Regions from separate parts of the Homo sapiens genome. Here region 1 is linked to region 2. The links are contacts of gene promoters, found by promoter capture Hi-C in human tissues and cell types (Jung and others, 2019). All regions are on one chromosome and are shown on one strand. The core of a region is centred on a gene start or on the middle of the fragment in contact, and the rest is flanking DNA. Distances in the headings are between cores, read along the strand shown.

The links. Contacts are between HindIII fragments. The study calls those that stand out against the background at their distance.
Region 1: the fragment with the promoter of SV2A here is called in contact with a fragment that was not itself captured in region 2 in 1 of the 25 tissues and cell types used here (dorsolateral prefrontal cortex).

The regions. Positions count from the first base shown.
Region 1 is chr1:149,915,316-149,919,112 of GRCh38, forward strand. SV2A (synaptic vesicle glycoprotein 2A) reads right to left here and starts at 2,529. Exons shown (of 13, transcript NM_014849.5): 1 at 2,424-2,529. RefSeq lists a silencer at 2,373-2,442. The HindIII fragment of the contact is 19,885 bases long and covers 1-3,797 here.
Region 2 is chr1:150,299,089-150,302,912 of GRCh38, forward strand. All of the region lies in intron 2 of MRPS21 (mitochondrial ribosomal protein S21), which reads left to right. Among named protein-coding and RNA genes, the nearest start is that of MRPS21, 7.1 kb to the left of the region's middle. The HindIII fragment of the contact is 5,855 bases long and covers 1-3,824 here.

The DNA of each region.
Region 1 (3,797 bases), core at 1,279-3,778, 380 kb before region 2:
TCCTTGCAAACAGAGTCCCAAGACACCCCTATCTATGTTTCAACTAATTCCAGTAGCTGGGCCCACATTAACTACCTCCAGAAGAACAAGGGAAGATCCAGAAAAGGGGGACCTGGAACCCAAGTAAAGTGGAGGAAAGATGGAAAGCTAAGAAAGAGGTGATGACTGTCCACTGCCACCTTGCTTCAGAATGTCATAGATAGGCCCCCTTTCCACAGATGGGGGTGAGAATGGAAATGACTGTCAAATGCATACATTTCCAACATGAGGTTCTAAGGCCTACAGTTGCATCCCATCCCTCCAGGGCCTCCCTTCCTAATCCCCCTTAATCCTTTCTGCTCCTCCTCCAGGAGTCAAGGAAGAAGGAGTCCACAAACACCGCATTGCGTAGGAGGCGGATGTAGAATAAAGGGGGTTTGGGTGTCCCCCCAAAAAAGACATTCTCCAGAGGAAGGCATGGGATAGCCCCCTTCCTTCATAGGAGCAGAGGAAGCAGGCCTAGATTCTGATCAGAAATCATCCCCCTAAAAATATCCTGCCTCCGGTGCTCCCACCCATCCAGGGCCTTCATTAAAACACACACACACACACACACACGCACACACACACACACGCCCTGGTAGAAGACGGTAAGCAATGCTATGTGGTTCAGAGAGAAGCACTGGCAAGCAGCGCCTTATCCCCTCAGGACAGATGTAAGCAGTGGACCACGGTGACCAGAAGCAGTGACCCCTATGTCACCTTTTCTTCATGGTTCAGGGCCCAACCATCCCCCATGAAAGAGCTGGAACTGCGGAATCCCCTCAGCGCATGGCAATTTGCTAGCTTTCCTCTCTTTCCTAACCAGGATCTCCCCTCCAGCCCTGAAGGAGGCAGGACCCACCAGGAGCCATACTCTATGTTTGTTGACCCTATTTCCCCCTGAGAGGGGCACGTAGGGCAGGGAAGCCTTCCACAACCACAGCAGGATATGAGGTCTCAACAGCCAGCTTCCTCAGGGCCAGCAAGCCCAGGAGGTCAGGAGAGAAAGAAAGAAGACAAATTCTTTGAGCTGGTGAGGAAGTGGTGCTATTTTTAGCCCCCAAAACAGCACAGGGTGGCTAAGCCTGGGGGAGTGAGACAAGACTTGGAGAGGTGGAGGTTAAAGGAGACAAGGTTCAGGGTTACAAGGTCCTAGGCTGGCTGACTTCACCTGACAGGAAAAAATGTGCCCAGGAGATTTTCTGCAGAGGGTGGAGACAGGCAGGGGACTCCAGAGCAAATGCTTTCTTTCAGAACAGCTCATCCAGCCCTGGGTCCAGAACCCCCCACCCTCCCAGTCAAAGCCCCTGACTTTGGGGTCCACCCAGATCCCCAGGCCTTCCTAGCTCAGGTGACAAGGTCATTAAAAAGCAATCACTTATCAAAACGTCCGCGGGGGCGGGGGTAGAATGTGGGAGGTGCGGGAGCACCCCTTCCCCATGACAGCCCGGTCATCGAACTTCAGCCCCCACCCAGGACCATCAAGACTGCGCCTCCCCTCCCCACATCCTACCAAGGTTAGGAAGATAGGAGCACCCACAGTTCTGAGGGATAAAAATGAGGGTGTCAGCTGAGAATGCACACTGAGGAATACGGAGAGGCAGAGAGGGGGACGCAGGGAGAGACCTCCGCATGCACAGACATAGAGACCGCCCCTATCAGCATTTGCAGCGACCCCCCCACACCCCATCTTGCCTCAGCTCCGGAATAAGGGAAAAGCCCCCAGAACTGACTAAATCCCTGCTCTGAGCACCTCCTCCACCCTTGGTCCTGCTGCTAGACAAGTGTCCACCTTCACTCAACATCCCTTCCCCCCACCCCGGAGCAACTGCCGCCAGCCCCCGCCATCCATGCCCCCAACACCTGGCGGCTCTACATCTCTGTCTCCCCAGTATTTCCATTCTTCACTCCCCTTCCCTCCATCCTTCACCTGCCCTTCTTCCCCTGCCCCCCACCCACCCAAGTCCAGGCGTGCACACTGAGGCAGCATCCATTCTCCAGCCCCAGCCAAGGTCATTTATCATTCATCCTGGGGGTGGGGGGACGTCAAGGTGAGGAGGGGATAGGAGTTTGAGGGAACCTCATCCCACCTCACAACCCCACCACCACGTTAATCTCCGAAGGGGATAGTGGGGACTTGGTTAAGGTAGAGAAAAACACCCCTCCTCCCCATTCACCAATATTATACATATGCGTGTGTGTGTGTGTGTCCTGAAGAGCACAACTGAAATAAATGTCCATCCCCAAACCACCACCAACCCACCAACCCCCCTCACCCCTAGAGAGGGGATCGTCACCCTCCCCATAAGCAAAGCATCGGAGGATAAAATGGCTGCAAGGCAAGGCAAAGATGCTTCTGCCAGGGGCGGGGAGGAGGTGAGCGACTGAGAAAGGGGTCTCACCTGGTCTAGGTTCCCCGGGTAAGGAGTCCCGGGCGAGGACGGGGGTCCCGGCCGCGGGCGGAGGCGGCAGCGGCGACTGCTCCCGGCACCAGGGAAGCGGCAATGCAGACCTGCCACCCCCCTTCCACCACTCCAGCCCCGCCTCCGCCCCCCCCTACCCCGCGCCACTGAGCATCGGGAGAGACCATTGGTGGGGAGAGGAGAAAAGAGGATGGGGAGGGAGTCAGGGCACGGGGAGAAATGATGAAAGGGCCGGAGGTTGTCACAAGAACAGCTGGAAATGGCACCCAGCCCTTCCCAGGCCCTTCCTAGTAAAAGATAGAAGGAACTAAAGAAAAAAACAGTGATGTTAGGAAGACAAGTGGGAAGACAGGGAGATGGGGAATGTGGCAGCCCCTTCCTTAGCACCCCAGTCTCAGTATGGCAGGACCCAATAATTTCAGGGGCTTTTGCTGCCTTCAAAACACCTCCCTTGCCTTCTCCACTGCTCTCAAACTCCTTTTTCACAACAGTCTCCCAAATCCAGAGTGCTCCTATTCCAAGTTTACCTGGACATTTTAGAGAAAGCAGAGATAACAAGGTGTGGTTTCTATCCTGAACTGCCAGAGTCAGAGACCCCTGGATTCCTTCCATCTCTTTCCTCACAAAACAGTCCAGGTTACTTATTTACAGTGGACACCTCCTCATCCTGTCCATTCAGTTGGTGGTAGCAGAAGTACTGGGGAAGTTGAGGGATTTTTACAGACCTGACCAACCGGACAGTTCCCCTTCCATTAATTTGCTCCAATGACTCAAAAAGGATCCTCTCAATACCCTTCTCCATTTTCTCTTACTCTCCTCTACCTCCCTCCCCTCCCCTCCACACACTTGTACTTCCCGGGCAGGAAGAAGTAAATTGTTTCAGCTTTTCCCTTCATCTTTCCTTTGCTCTTGCATCAATAACCTGGACTCAGAGATCCAAGACATGCCACTTGGTGACACTTGATGACCATCCCTGCCGAAGGAGTGAGAGGGAATATGGTGATTTGGGGAAATACATCCTGAATGTGTCTATGCCAGATAAGGTCAGGACCTTCCAGACAGCACTGACCTGGGCTTGGACCTGGGTTCTCACTGCTAACAAGCTGTCAACTCTTGGTCAAGTTCTCCACATCTGTGAACTTCAGGTTTCTCATCTGGAAAAGGGGGGCTTGGACTAGATACTGCATCAGGTCCCTCTCAGATCTAATAGCGTGTGATTCTGCCTTACTAAATGTGGAGGCTTCAGAATGCTGATATATATACATGGAGAAGGCTGACAGGCTATGTCCGAAGAGACCACACAGGTAACATTTGCCAGGTTGAATTTACCTCTGACAGGGACACGGGCCTGGG
Region 2 (3,824 bases), core at 796-3,295:
GTCTGTAATCCCAGCTACTCCGTAGGCTGAGGCAGAAGAGCCGCTTGAACCTGGGAGGCAGAGACTGCAGTGATGCCCCATATCATATATGGAATGCATCCCCATTTACACCTAAAATTTGAAACAGAATCTGAGAAACAAAATATTTCTAATCTCCTTCCTGATCCTCTTCACTGATACCAGGTTTGCAGAAAATATAAGGCCAGCTCTTATCTTTTGAGAGAAGACTCTTATTTCTTTGTCTAAGATTGTCTATACCCCTTTTTATCTGCCTCTTTTAAAAATCCTTGTCCAGCCACTATATTTTTAATTTAATCAACACTCAGTTTTTGCTTTTCCTGTTTTTTTTTCTGTTTTTTGTTTGTTTGTTTGTTTGTTTGTTTGAGACGATGTCTCGCTCTTGTCCCCCAAGCTGGAGTGCAGTGGCATGATCTCGGCTCACTGCAACCTCCGCCTCCCAGGTTCAAGTGATTCTCCTGCCTCAGCCCCCCGTGTAGCTGGGATTACAGGCACTTGCCACCACGCCTGGCTAGTTTTGGTATTTTTAGTAGAGACGGGGTTTCACCATGTTGGCCAGGCTGGTCTCGAACTCCTGACCTCAGGTGATCCACCCGCCTCTGTCTCCCAAAGTGCTGGGATTACAGGTGTGAGCCACCACACCCAGCCCACATACTACTTTTATGGTTCTCTTTTTGTTGGTGACTGGCATTTTACACAAACCTATTTCCTGGGTCGAAGTGTTAATATTAGAGAGCCGGAGAGTGGTCAGTGTGACACCCTGTGGTTTCAACCCTGGCTGCCTATTAGGATCACCTAGGGAACGAACCATCAAGAAAACAAAACTAATGCCAGGGCCCAATCTGAGATGAATCAGAATCTCCAGGGGTTGCAACCTGGATGGCAGCATTTTAAAAAACATACCATGAGATTTCACCAGGATTGAAAATTATTATAATAGACTTGTAGCCTCCTGGCTGGGCACAGTGACTCATGCCTGTAATCCCAGCACTTTGGGAGGCTGAGGGGGGCGGATCATTTGAGGTTAGGAGTTCAAGACCAGCCTGGCCAACATGGTAAAACCCCGTCTCTACTAAAAATATAAAAATTAGCCGGGTATGATGGTGCATACCTGTAATCCCAGCTATTCGGGAGGCTGAGGCAGGAGAATCGCTTGAACCTGGGAGCTGGAGGTTGCAGTGAGCCGAGATCGCGCCACTGCACTCCAGCCTGGGTGACAAAGTGAGACCCTGTCTCAAAAAAAAAAAGGCTTGTAGCCTCCTTAAGGACAGAAACCTATGCTTTTTCATTTGTGTATCTCTTGGATTTACCAAAGTGTCTGGCACATCCAAAGCTCTCATTAAATGTCTACTTAATGAACATAAATGTTCCTTTATCTTTTTTGTCACTTATTTAATGTTTGTCAAACTTTTTTACTGAAGTGTCGTTAACAGCAGAGGAGAGTGAATGAACTATAGGGGTTCTGCTACTATAAGCAAACATGGAATTTCTTTGAAGCTTCCCTAAATTAAAATGTAAGGTGAACTTCGTATTCGTTGCCATTGCATCTGTTTTATGGGTAACACCCCCACTCCTTCGAGTTAAAATTGGTGCCTCCAGGCAGATGCATCAAATTTGTCCAGAAACTTGTATCCTTTGGCATTCTGTTAATTACCCTGGTTAAGAAGCACAGTATTACCTTTTCTTCAGGGATTAAAACACCAAAGTAGGAGTAGGATTTGGAAAAAAGCAATTTACATTGCTTAAAAAGAAAAGAATTATATTCTTTTCTTTTTAAGAAAGAAGAGGAGTGGTTAGAAAAATAAATTTGGCCAGGCGCGGTGGCTCACCCCTGTAAGCTCAGCACTTTGGGAGGCCGAGGCGGGTGGATCATCTGAGGTCAGGAGTTCAAGACCAGCCTGGCCAACATGATGAAACCCTGTCTCTACTAAAAAAAATACAAAAATTGGCCGGGCGCGGTGGCTCATGCCTGTAATCCCAGCACTTTGGGAGGCTGAGGGGGGCGGATCACGAGGTCAGGAGATCGAGACCATCCTGGCTAACACAGTGAAACCCCGTCTCTACTAAAAATACAAAAAATTAGCTGGGCGCCGTGGCGGGCGCCTATAGTCCCAGCTACTCGGGAGGCTGAGGCAGGAGAATGACGTGAACCCGGGAGGCGGAGCTTGCAGTGAGCCAAGATGGCGCCATTGCACTCCAACCTGGGGGACGAGAGCGAGACTTCGTCTCAAAAGAAAAAAAATTAGCCGGACATGGTGGCAGGTGCCTGTAATCCCAGCTACTCAGGAGGCTGAGGCAGGAGAATCGCTTGAACCCAGGAGGCGGAGGTTCCAGTGAGCCGAGATCGCGCCATTCATTGCACTCCAGCCTGGGGGACGAGAGCGAGACTTCGTCTCAAAAAAGGAAAAGAAATTCAAGTCCCATAGACTCAGAGTCCCATAAATTGTATTATAGCTTCGCGGGGCAGGGGGGAAATGAACAAATATTTCAGTCTTAGAATAATTTTCTTTTTCCTTTCTTTTTTTTTTAATACGGAGTCTCTCTCTGTTGCCCAGACTGCGTGGTCTCGCCTCACTGCAACCTCTGTCTCCCGGGTTCAAGTGATTCTCCTGCCTCAGCCTCCCGAGTAGCTGGGATTACAGGCACCTGCCACCACGTCCGGCTAATTTTTTGTAGTAGAGACGGGGTTTCACGATGTTGGCCAGGCTGGTCTCAAACTCCTGACCTCATGATTGGCCCGCCCGGCCTCCCAAAGCGCTGGGATTACAGGGGTGAGCCACCGTGCCCGGCCTCTTAGAATAATTTTCTAGGTAAGGACTTTCAAGCTTGCATACGTGAGCAGACTGATTTTGGAGTGATCCAATCTTCTGTTTTCCTGCTGCCTGTTAAACACATTTTCTGACTGATGCACTTTTCTGTTTCTTCTTTTTCTCTGCTTTTCCCAAATGTCCTCTCTCTAGCCACTTTTTCTGTATATCTTTCTCACACTCCAGGCCTCTCCTGATCTCTTTCAGCTTTCTCATAGCTGGTAGTTTAAAAATAATTTGCTTGTTCTGTGGTCTAATTACAACAATAGGTAGGAGAGCAAATGAGTCTAGAGGGAGGTGATTAAAGCTTTACCATGTTTGGAGTACAGAGAGAGTCTTACAAAGGAAATAGCCTACGTGTCTGTCCAGTGAGGCCACCACAAAATGCCTGTTATATAACTGGGGGCCCTCATTGGTGCCCCGGGATGAGAAGGTGGAGAGTGGGGGTTGCTAGGAAGCCCTGCATGATTGGCTGGCCCCCAAGCAAAGAAAGGTGAGTACACTGGAAGCATGCCCTGTTGACTCCTTTTACTCCTAGTGGGCTACCTTCTGGGTCCATTGAGTCCTTCTGCATACACGTCTGTCCTGACGTAGACTGGCTACACTGACATGTGAGTCTGCCACCCGCACCTCCCCCCGCTCCAGGCAGCTTGGCTCCTTTTACATAATCATTTGAATTTCACTAAAACTGGCAGCTGGTTTCTCCTTCAGTATTAGGTTGCCAGGCGCCCGAACTCCAGGCTGATCTGTTTACTCTAAAGCTCTTGATGTACTAGTCCTTGAACTACTTTTGGAAGCAGAAGGAAGCATCATTAGTAACACCCCCTCTATTCTTGTGTTTTACAAAGCTTTTCTTGCATCCTTTTCTGTTAGAGGTAAAGTTGAGTAGATACCTCTACTATAGGGACTCTGGGGCATTTGAAGATAATCTGTGCCTTTTTTAGTATGACTAGAACGTGTCGGGTAAGGGAGGGAATCCTCACCTGGCATCTTGGAATT